2 separate regions of the Homo sapiens genome follow, and region 2 is linked to region 1. The links are contacts of gene promoters, found by promoter capture Hi-C in human tissues and cell types (Jung and others, 2019). All regions are on one chromosome and are shown on one strand. Each heading gives the region's core, a stretch centred on a gene start or on the middle of the fragment in contact. The rest is flanking DNA. Distances are from core to core; before and after follow the strand shown.

Region 1 (6,087 bases), core at 1,535-4,034:
GGCATATATATGCATATTATACAATCTGTACAGACATATAAACAAACATATCCATATGTATATATTCATATATAGATATATGTACCACATATGCATATAATCTGCTAGCAATGACAATCCATTAAAAGGTAATTAAGTAGGACATGAATTAATTAAACTTAAATGCACAAATTATATGGCAGCATTGTTTAGGAAATAAGAGACTATAAAAGGATAAGGGAGATACTAACTAGAGTCTTGCAAAACAGACAGGTGAGTTGTTTCAGGTTGGGGACCTGGGTGATATAAATGGGAATGTGATGAAATGATATACATAGGAATATAGATGAAATTTTAGTGTTGAAAGAGGAAGAGTAGGGGTGACCTGAAGATGGATTACTCATAATACAGCAAGAGGATGTAGTGTGAGGAAAGCTAAAATGTAAGGACTTTTGAGTCACAAAACATCCATACTCTTGCTTATTTTCACACCTTTCGCAGCCACCCACTGGACACGATGAGATCATATCATTTTAGCATTATTTGATCTTTGGCAATATGCATTTAAGGCCACTTTTTATCCATAACAAATGCTAATAATTATGGAAATATTACTGATTTCCTTTTCTTATTGTTTTCATTTTTTTAATGCTAGAAAAATTGATACCATTTACTTTCTATTCTGGCATTTTTCTTCTCTACATCCATGCTAACTTAATTTTTAAATTATCTATTAGCTTTCTGAATTCGTTAGCAATATGAATCTTTTCATGTTTTCCAGTGTCATACAAATACAACTGTAAAAGGCCTCTGAAGGCATCGTCAATAAAGAGAGGCAAGTTGCCTTTTCTTATTACTCATAGAAAGGAATAGAGATAAAAGTACCCTCTTAGAGTTTGGCCTTGCATTGACGGTTTTAACTCACTTCTCATTTTATGATTGCATTTCCCATTCTATTTATTGCTTCAAGTGATATATGAGTTAAATTCTTATAAGAAGTGAAGTTTGCCAATTCCATAATCTAGAGTAAAAGACCTTTTGAGGGACAGCTGATTCCTGAGATCTTTATCGGCTCAACCAAACACAAATCTGCCACCACAATCCAGTTAAATGTGATGTTTCCACACTATACAATTCTGTCAGCTGTATTATATTTCCTACTCAAATACTTTTGAGAGGAACTACAGTGCTTTAACACTTAAGGCATTTATAAAGCCACATGAAGAGTATTTAACCTATAAATGTTTTCATTTGTTTTCTGCTTTAATTATCTAATATAACATGAACACCAGGTTAAAATTCCTTGGATGCTTTTGAATAACATATATAAATATTTTAAGGAGTTTATTAGGTATAAAACCCTAAGTCATTAAAATGCTAAAACAATTATATTTACAATAACTTTGAACACTTAGCAAAACACCTTATCTAACTGCAAAATTCTTTTTACTGAAAATGAGAGATATCACTATGAAATCTAAACATTTCTTTTTACCATTTTTGTGAATGAATCTATTACTTGTTTATTTCTCAGACTGTAGATAATGGGATTTAGCAAAGGAATTATGATTGTATAAAAGACAGAGTCTATCATATCTTGGTCATCTGCTTGTGGAGATGCAGGGCGCAAATACATGAAGATAAGTGGGCCATAATATAAAGAGACAGATAAGAGATGGGCTCCACAGGTGGAAAAGGCTTTCCTTACGCCTCTAACAGACTTCTTTTTTAGGATTGTGAAAAGAGCAAATGTGTAAGAATTAAGAACTGTCACAATGGTGAATACCTGAATTGAGCCAGACAAAATAAAAACCATTAGAAAATTAATAGAAGGGTCAGTACAGGAAATCATAAACAGTGGTATAATATCACAGTAAAAATGATGTATTATGTTAGAATTGCAGAAGGTTAATCTGAATATAAGGACTTCATGAATTAAGGCATGGAGGAAGCCACCTAAAAATGAGAAGGCTAACAGCCGTATGCATAGTGAATTGTTCATAATCACTGGATATAGTAAAGGTTTGCATATGGCTACATAGCGATCATATGCCATTGTTGCCAAGAGAAAACATTCTGTAGTTCCACCAAATGCAAAGGAAAAAAATTGAATCATGCATTCAGACAGAGATATCATCCTGTTTTTGGCCAAGAAATTAACCAACATTTTGGGAGTTACTGTGGAAGATATCCAAGCATCAACAAAGGCTAAACTCCCAAGAAAAAAGTACATGGGGATGTGAAGTTGTGGGTCATTCCAGATAAGAGCAATCAGACCAAGGTTCCACACAATAGTGATGAGATAGATCACCAAGAACACCAAGAACAGGGGCATTTTCCACTCTGGCTGATATGTAAGTCCTGTGAGAACAAACTCTGTCAGCAATGTTGTATTATCCTGTTCCATGTCCTCATTCGACATCCCTGAAATGAAATGCAGTAAATGTAAAAGAGCATTCACTAAGACTTATACAGCAAATACTGGGGGAGGGAAGTTGATAGAAAAACATACTCTTATTACAATACCCTTTTAATTTTCTTTCATATTCCTGTAATAGATGGAAACTGTTTTGGGAAATATAAGAAATCAAAATAAATGCAATTATTTTAATTCTAAAAATGTGATCAAATAATCTACTTTTAAAATGCAGATGATAGAAATGCATGTAATGTGTGTTAACTTAAGAAAATCACTATTTGTAAATTTAGAAAAGGAGAGAAGACTTATTTCTTATAAGGGGTTACAGCCTGCAAGGTGGCCATCAAGTGTGCTGGGAAGCATGCCTCTGGCCAAGACCAGAAACAGGCACATCAAAGGAGGAGGGCTTGAGGTAGGAGCTTTAGGCTAAATAAGTTGGCTAAATATACATATTCAACAGGTTACGGGAGGATCTATGAGTATTCATGAAGGTAGCCTTGGCACATGCATATTGAACATGTATGTAACATACAACCCATGTTCACATTGGAGTGGAGACTTAACATTTAAATTTGTTACAGTTAGGCCCTATACATCAAAAGGTCTTCTCAGGACATGAAGGCCCATAAATGCACTGTCTCTGTAAACCAGCCAGAACCAGTCCGTGGTCAGTTTTCCTCTTATCTGGAGAAAGTTACTGACATCAGTCTCTTGTCCAATCAAAGCTGTAGTTATGTCTGGTAGCAGGGGTTCAGTTACTGAGCATCTGGTGCAGCTGCAAATTGTTTTAATCCTGCTTGTCTTGAGGCCAGTGCCTGTTTAGCTACTAGAGAAAAAGAAAAACCTTGTGGCAGTTAGAACACAGTTTATTCTTTAAGTGTAGAGGTGCCTGACTTAAACCTTGCCTGGTGTGGCCTTAGGTTCTGTTTATAATTTGGAATCTTATTGTCACAAAGAATATGTTCTGTCAGTCTTATAATCTCTATCTTAACATTAATACCGGTCAGTTGTCATGTCTAAATTGCAAAAGAGAGGAAGTATAACAAGGCACATCTGACTTCCCACCCTGTCATGGCTGAGAACTAAGTTTTTACAGTTTTTCTGGAGAACTTTTGGCCAAGAGGGGGTTCGTTCTGTTGATGGGGGGCTTTGAATTTTAAGTTTGCAAGTGCCTAGTCCATGTGTATTATAATCTTGCAAATAATGAGGATGAAGAAATAGATTCTAAAGCATTCAGAAAGTAGTGTCACTAGGACTTAGTCACATATTTGATAGAAAAGTAGTATTCAGTGAAGGAAAAAGGAGTCACTTTGTGAGTAGGTAGATTGTCATTCAAAATAGAGACTGAGAACTCAGGGGCATTGACAAGTTTGCAGTGTGAGCATGCCTTGAATATGTAGGTGAGATGTTTGGTATTAGTAATACAATTCTACTAGAGTGATAGAAATAACTTGGGAGTCACTGGAGTAGTTGAAGGCATAGTAATGGATGTCTTACCTATTGGAGAGTACATTAAGAAAAGAAAAGCATAGCACCAAAAATACTTGATAGTATAATGACCTAATTTCCTTTGGGTATATACCCAGTAATGGGATTGTTGGGTCAAATGGTAGCTTTGTTTCAAATTGTTGAGAAATCTCCAGGCTGCTTTCCACAGTGGCTGAACTAAAGTATTTCCACCAACAGTGTATAAGCCTTTCCTTTTCTCCACAGCCTCATCAGCATGTTTTGTTTTTTAATAATAGCCATTATGACTGGTGTGAAATGGTATCTCATTGTGATTTTGATTTGCATTCCTCTGATGATTAATGATGAGCATTTCTTTTTTATGTGTGTTGACTGCCTGTATGTCTTCTTTGGAGAAGGATCTGTTCATGTCCTTTGCTTATTTGTTAATAGGGTTACATTTTTTTGCTTGCTGATTTGTTTAAGTTCCTTATAGATTCTGATATTAGACCTTTATTGGATGCATAGTTTGCAAATATTTTCTGTCATTCTGTAGGTTGTCTGTGTACTCTATTGATGATTTCTTTTGCTGTGCAGAAGTTCTTTACCTTAATTAGGTCACACTTGTCAATTTTTGTTTTCATTGCAATTGCTTCTGAGGACTTAGCCGAAAATTCTTTGCTAAGGCTGATGTTGAGAAGAATACTTCCTAGGTTTTCGTCTAGGATTTTTACATTTTGAAGTCTTACATTTAAATATTTAATCCATCTTGAATAAATTTTTGTGTATGATGAAAGGAAAGGATTCAGTTTCATTCTTCCACATATGGCTAGCCGCCATGACAGCACCGTTTACTGAATAGGGTATCCTTTCTCTGTTGCTTGTTTTTTGTCAGCCTTGTTGAAGATCAGATTATTCCAAGCGTGTGGCTTAATTTCTGAGTTTGCTACTCTGTTCCATTGGTCTATGTGTCTGTTTTTGTAACAATACCATGCTGTCTTTGTTGTTAAAGTCACATGCACTCCTATGTTCATTGCTACACTATTCACAATGGTAAACACATGGAATCAATCTAGGTGTCCAGCAGGGGTGGATTGGATTTTTAAAATGTGGTACATATACAAGATGGAATACTACTCAGCCATAACAAAGAATGAGATCATGTACTTTGCAGCAGCATGGATGCAGTTGGAGGCCATAATCCAAAGCAAACCGACACAGGAGCAGAAAACCAAATGACACACGTTCTTATTTACAAGTGGGGCTAAACATTGAACACACATGGACATAAACATGAGAACAATAGACACTTTGGACTAGTACATGGGAGACGGAGGGGAGAATGGGTGGAAAAACTATTGAGTACTCTGCTCACTAACTGCATGCAATATACCCATGTAACAAGCCTGCATATATTCTCTCTATATCTAAAATAAAAGTTGACTTTTTTTAAAAAAAAGAAAAACAGCTTGAGGAGTTATATTGAAAGGTAATATAGGGAATGGATGTCATTTATTGGATGGTCAACATCTGATACTTTTTTCTCTCCCACACAGATCTTAGTGGCAGACAAAGGATTTGACTTTGGTATGTGTAATCAAACCCACTCAACCTAGATTTGGATATAGAGAAATGGAGGCAAATGTGCATGGACAATAAAAAAAAATTAGTACAAAGGCAGTTGAAGCAAAAATTTCAAGATCTCAGAACATGCACCCTGCATTTAAAAAACAATGGTACAGAAAATATAAGCTGTGTCATTGGCAGTTCAGCAGCAGAAAAAACCACACTCATGAAGCTACTGTTGGAACAGGATTTTGGCTGTTGACTGGCTGCCTTGCTTCCTTCTGTTCCTGCCATTGTTTTCCAGTGAATTTCTCCAACTTTCCTAGCATTTATATGTTAAACTCAATATCCATTCAATAACTTATTTCCTGTTGCAGCCCCCCAAAACCTGGATGTTCAAAAGAGAGATGAGGGAGAGAACAGAAAAGGATATTGAACAGAAGGATCAAGGGAAGAAGCAGGAGGGAAACTAGAGAATTGAGTGTTGGGGACATAAAGAAAGGAAAGATACAAAGAATGACAAAGTGAAGTACAGGGCCAAATGCCAAAATAAATGGTTTAGTAGGACAAGAAGTGAAGGAAAATCACTGTGCTGAGAATGTACATGATTTTTTAGTGGCTTTAGTGAGAGCAGTTTCCCTTATATAATGGAATAAAGTTCAGCAAATAAGACGTGA
Region 2 (6,087 bases), core at 2,507-5,006, 58 kb after region 1:
TTTCCTGTAGAATTTAGAATCCTTTTTGGATCATATGATCCAGGACTCTCTGAATTTCACCAATTTATTCAAATGATACTGGAACCTGGTGAAGCCTGCAGCTGAAGCCAAATGTTAGGTAACTAAAATAGATAATAAAGATCCACCCCTCGGCCAGGCGTGGTGGCTGACGCCTGTAATCCCAGCACTTTGGGAGGCCGAGGCAGGCGGATCACGATGTCAGGAGATCGAGACCATCCTGGCTAACACAATGAAACCCCGTCTCTACTAAAAATACAAAAAAATTAGCCAGGCATGGTGGCGGGCGCCTGTAGTCCCAGCTACTTGGGAGGCTGAGGCAGGAGAATGGCGTGAGCCCGGGAGGTGGAGCTTGCAGTGAGCCGAGATCGTGCCACTGCACTCCAGCCTGAGCGACTGAGTGAGACTCTGTCTCAGAGAAAAAAAAAAAAGATCCACCCTTCAATCTTCCAGGAAAACACACCAAAAGCTGAGAAAATAACAAATAATCTTCTAGAACCCATCCCATAATATTTCCTCAATAATTCACTGGTCTGTCATTCAGTCTTGTAAACACAGAAAGAAGAACCAGTTCTGTAAGGCAAGATTAGAAGTACTATTTGTAAAACATTCCGGTCAATCCATGTTGAGTTCAGAAATAGAAAGTACTTATCCTATTTATTAATGGGATTCACCCTAAACCATTAATCTAGTTATAAAATAAACATGGTTTGATAATCCGACCAATTAATACCCAAAATATTTCGCATCTCTGGCACAAAGCCTATTTTATGTTAGATATTTTGAGATCCCATTATAAGAGAAATGTAAAGGAATCTCCATTTGTAGGATGTCTCTCTTTCTGGTCCCCAAAGAGAAGTTTGAGTAAATCACTAAATAGTGGTGAAAGCACTGATTCAGTCTCTGTCACAAACCTTACCTTTGTAAGTGTGGTTATCTTGGCTATCTTGTCCTGACTGTGTCTATCAACACTCTTTTTGTTTGTTTGTTTTGGCAAATAATGACATTTAAATATGAATTCTAAGCACTGTGCCTTTGATATATAAGGCTGATGGTATCATGAATGTTTAGGTAAGTAGCTATGATCAAAATCTTAACAAGCACATGGAAAAGGCTCTGAGAAGTAAAGATTTCTGGTAACATTAGAATCACAACATCGTACCAGATTTAAAGAATCTTTATCAGAAATTTGGTCAAGTATACCCTTTGTAAACAGAATTAAAACATTTACCTATCTCTCCCTAGCTGATCTATCCAGAATTCAGAAACTGAGTATTCTACTTTTGATGACAATATAGGTATTTGTGAAAGTTTAATAAGAATTTGTTCTTCTTGTAAGATAACACATTTGGAAACATTGGTTGTATGACCACAACTTTGACTGGAATGTCATATTGGAGAATGTGTGTAGAATTAGATATGACTAGACAGTTTAAGGAACTGTCTTTATTAAGGAATTGACTTTATGAAGCTAATTATGCCTTGCCTTAGTCCATTCAGTGTTGCCTTAAAGGAATACTTGAAGCTAGGTAATTCATATATAAAAGAAGCTTATTTGGCTTAAAATACTGCAGGCTATAAAAGAAACATTGCACTAACATCTGTTTCTGGTGAGGGCTTCAGCCTGCTTCACTCATGGAGGCAGGTGAAATGGAGTTGGCATGTGCAGCGATCACATGACAAGAGAGGAGGCAAGAGAGGAAGCAAAGGTGTCAGGCACTTTTTAACAATCAGCCATCATAGGAACTAAGAAAGTTAGAACTCACCCATTATTATGGGGGATCCGTACCCATGACTCATACACGTCCCATTCTGTCCTACCTCCAACATTCAGATTCATATTTCACCATGGGATTTGGAGTGGTCCATCCAATCAAATAGCAGCAAGTACCTTCAGAAAAACCGACCTGATATCTGCTCACAAGTTTTCCAGCCTTATTGTTTGAGAGGAAGGTCACTTTCTGGAAGGCTCAGGAAACTGAAAAATATTTTTAGTACCTATTTTGAGTAGAGGAGAGTTTAGCTAATTCTATGGATATTGCAGGTAAACACTGATTTTATGTTCTTGGTATGATTTCATAGCCTGGACAGGCTTTTAAAGTTGAATCCGAGATTATTTATTAAAAGTTCTAACAAGGTAAACTTAAAAAGAGATGATCAATCCTATTCCTACTGCACTTATGTAAATACTCAGTTGAAGTTTAATGAGAGTAGACTTGTTTTGTAAACAAATTAATCTTACTATAACTATATTTGAAAGAAATGGGTGTGACTATAGAGGGAAGATTTATGTTTCAGTAGATAACTGTAATGCACCCATTATTAACTTCTTGTTCTGTCCATTGTCTTTGAGGTTTTATTATCTACCTATAAACTGCCCTATTCCTGAAGCCCTGCAAGCTAGGGCTGGGCAACTTGATATAAACTTCAGAGGACAATCTTCATGCATGCTGCTGTGTGGGCTGCTAAGGAAGTTCACCAAAACATCCAATGACATAAACTAAGCTTGTCCAACATGTGGCCCACAGGCTGCATGCAGCCAAAGATGGCTTTGAATGTGGCCCAACACAAATTAATAAACTTTCTTAAAATATTATGAATTTTTTTGTGATTTTTTTAGCTCATCATTTTTTAGCTATCATTAGTGTTAATGTATTTTATGTGTGGCCCAAGACAATTATTCTTCTTCCAATATGGCCCATGGAAGCTAAGACATTGGACATACCTGACATAAACAGAGACATTCAGATTACTAACCAGAAAAATCATTAGATTGCAACTACCATTTTATTTCATCATCTAAAGTTGCTTTGAGCTTAAATCTAAAAATCTTCTCAACTAACTGCTCTCTGGGCTCAATACTAAATTCACAGATTGTTATAACCATTAACCTTTTCTTTTTATTTGGTTTATTTCTGTTGGTTTGGTTCACTGGCACTTTGGCTATCGAGTATATACCAGTACCTTGTTGTTTTCCTTGTGATAGTCATCACTGTAATCTTCCTGGTATGCTGTATTTTCTCAGTAGTCTTATAGCCATCAAAGTATGCCAGGTTTTCTCACTGTGATTAGAACGGCAAAAAAAGAAAATAAATAAAATATTTAAAAAATAAATAAATAAAAAATAACTGAAAAAGAAGCTTCCTTAAGAGACTAGAAATTATAACTTATGAGTTCTATGCTGAGACAGAGACAAACCAGAAAAAGCGGCCTGTGTGCTTGAGTTTCTGTCAATAATTCATAACTGAGAGGGAGGCTGACCAAAAGGGAAAAAATAATTAATATCATTAAGTAAAAGTTCCTTAGGATGAAGTGGCTCCAGCAAAGTGGGTTCCTGTCTAAGCAAACAGAAATGCAATTCAGTGTAAAAGGTAAAACAAAAGTTAAATTTAAACAACCAGAAAATGCCAACTCACCCCTAACTAGGGACTTTTCACTGGAGTGAAATAATGCTACTGCTCCACTTTAACCAATAAAATATTTCTTTTTGCATTCCTTCTGCATTCACCTTATAAGAGCCTTCATCTCACATGTTCTCACTCATAGGTGGGAATTGAACAATGAGAACACTTGGACACAGGAAGGGGAATATCACACACCGGGGCCTGTTGTGGGGTGGGAGGAGGGGGGAGGAATAGCATTCGGAGATATACCTGATGTAAATGACGAGTTAATGGGTGCAGCACACCAACATGGCACATGTATACATGTGTAACAAACCTGCACGTTGTGCACATGTACCCTAGAACTTAAAGTATAATTAAAAAAAAGAACCTTCATCTCCTCTCTTGCCCCTTCAAAAAGCCCCAAACCACATGCAGTCTCATGTTGCAAAATACATCACCATCTCCTCAAATAACCACTAAATTCTAGTGCCACTACATTCATATTTTAACTATATATGTATCTATGTATATATATTACATGACTCTACATACACATAAAAAATAAACATGTGCATAGATATTGATACCTGAAACATACATGCATATAATCAGGTATCAACGACAATCCAACAAGAGGCACTGAAAAGAGATATAACTCATTAGAGTTTTGTTTGCAAAAAACAATCTGACAGCAATGTTGGGGAAGTAAGTGAGTGCTAGAGGATGGAGGAAATAAGTAACTAGAGGTTTCCAAAACAATATGTGAATAGTTGTTAGAGTAAGGGCCTCAGTGGTATCAGTAAGAATGTGAAAGGAATTTTGGCGTCTAAACATCTTCATCTTTTGACAGAGTGGAATGGTCGATGAATGACTCATATATTCAAGAGTATGAAGTGTGAAGAAGGCTAACAATCAAAGACTTTTTGAGGCAGAAAATATCCAAACTCTTTCTCATGTCCATCTTTTTCCCTCTACTCACTGGGCACTGTGATGTCATATCATCTTAACATTATTTGAACTTTGGTGATGTGAATTTAAAGCCCCGGGTTGTCAAGAACACATTCCAGTAACTTTGTATTATGACTTTTTCTTTAAAAAATCTTAGTAGCTTCATTTTTTTTCTAGGAAGATTAAGACCATTTTCTTCCCATTACGCCACTTATCTTTTCTTCTCTATGCCTACTTCATATTAGTTCTTCTATTTAACCTTTTAATTTTCTGAATTAGGGAAGAGTTTCAGATTGTCTAAAACATAAACATGCTAGAAAGGAAGTTAGAAGCAAATATAGAAAGTTAGGGGCAGCTTTTCTTTTCCTGCTCATATAAGCACAATGAGTTAACAGCATTCTCTTACACCTGTTAACACCTTTCTCATTTTATTTCTAATTGTGTTTCAATTTCAGTTTATTTCTTTACTGGAAATGTGAGTTGATTTCATACAAGAAGTGGAATTCACCCTTTCCCAAAAGTGAAATGAAAGTCCTTTTGAGGACTAGCAGAATTATTGGGATTTACCTCTCTTCACACAAACACAAATTTGCCTCCACTATGAGTTAAATGTGATGGGCGTCTCAGGCAATATAGTTGTAATAGTATCAAAAGCATCACACTCAAGTCCTTATCAGATGAACTAGATAATTTTAGCGTTTAATACATTGATAAAGACATATTGATTAACATACAATCTATAAAATATTTTTATTTGCTTTCTGCTGTCATTATGACATGATTAAAATTTCTTGAATGCTTTTGCATAACATATAGGAATATTTTAATTAGTTAATTAGGTTCTAACATGTTAAGTCATTATAGTGCTAGGACAGTTATAATTACAAAAAAATTTGAAAGTTGGCAAAAACTTAGGTACCTCAAACTAGCATAATTTTGTAACTATTTTATTGAATAGAGAAGAGAGATAAGTATGCAATGCAAATATTTTATTTTAACATTTTTGTGAGTGAACCTATTATTGCTTATTTCTCAGGCTGTAGTAATATGGTTTAACAAACGCACAATGATAGGGTAAAATAGATACTCCATCATATCTTGATTATCTGCTTGTGGAGCTGCAGGGCCCACATACATGAAGAGAAGGAGGCCATAACATAAAGAGAGAGGTATGTAATGGGCTCCACAGGTGGAAAAGGCTTCCCTTATGCCTTTGTTAGACTTCTTTTTTAAGATTGTAAAGAGAACAAACATATAAGATACAAAAACAATCCCAATGGTTAAAACTTGAATTGAACCTGAGAAAATAAAAAACATTAGAAAATTAATACAAGAATCAGTACATGAAATCTTTAACAATGGGATAATGTCACAGTAAAAATGTTGTATCATGTTGGAGTTACAGAAGGTTAGTCTGAATAAAAAACCTTCATGGATTAAAGCATGAAAAAGGCCACCTAGAAATGACAAGACAAATAGCCAGATGCATAGTTCATTGGTCATAATGACTGGATAAAGTAAAGGTTTGCATATGTCTGCATAGCGATCATATGCCATTGATGCCGAGATAAAACATTCTGTGGTTACACTGATTGCAAGGGAAAAAAAATTGTACCATGCATTCAGAGAGAGATATCATCTTACTCTTAGCTAAGAAGTTGATCAGCATCTTCGGAGTCACTGTGGATGATAACCAAGTATCCACAAAAGCTAAACTCCCAAGGAATAAGTACAT

Evidence for each region. Contacts are between HindIII fragments. The study calls those that stand out against the background at their distance.
Region 2: a fragment that was not itself captured here is called in contact with the fragment with the promoter of OR5H2 in region 1 in 2 of the 25 tissues and cell types used here (ovary and stomach).

The regions. Positions count from the first base shown.
Region 1 is chr3:98,279,202-98,285,288 of GRCh38, reverse strand. It overlaps OR5H2 (olfactory receptor family 5 subfamily H member 2), which reads right to left and starts at 2,784. Exons shown (of 1, transcript NM_001005482.2): 1 at 1,219-2,784. The coding sequence starts at 2,386. The coding sequence ends at 1,457. All of the region lies in intron 1 of LOC105373999 (a long non-coding RNA gene), which reads left to right. The HindIII fragment of the contact is 8,138 bases long and covers 1-6,087 here.
Region 2 is chr3:98,222,224-98,228,310 of GRCh38, reverse strand. It overlaps the pseudogene OR5H4P. Among named protein-coding and RNA genes, the nearest start is that of OR5H6, 39 kb to the left of the region's middle. The HindIII fragment of the contact is 3,420 bases long and covers 2,047-5,466 here.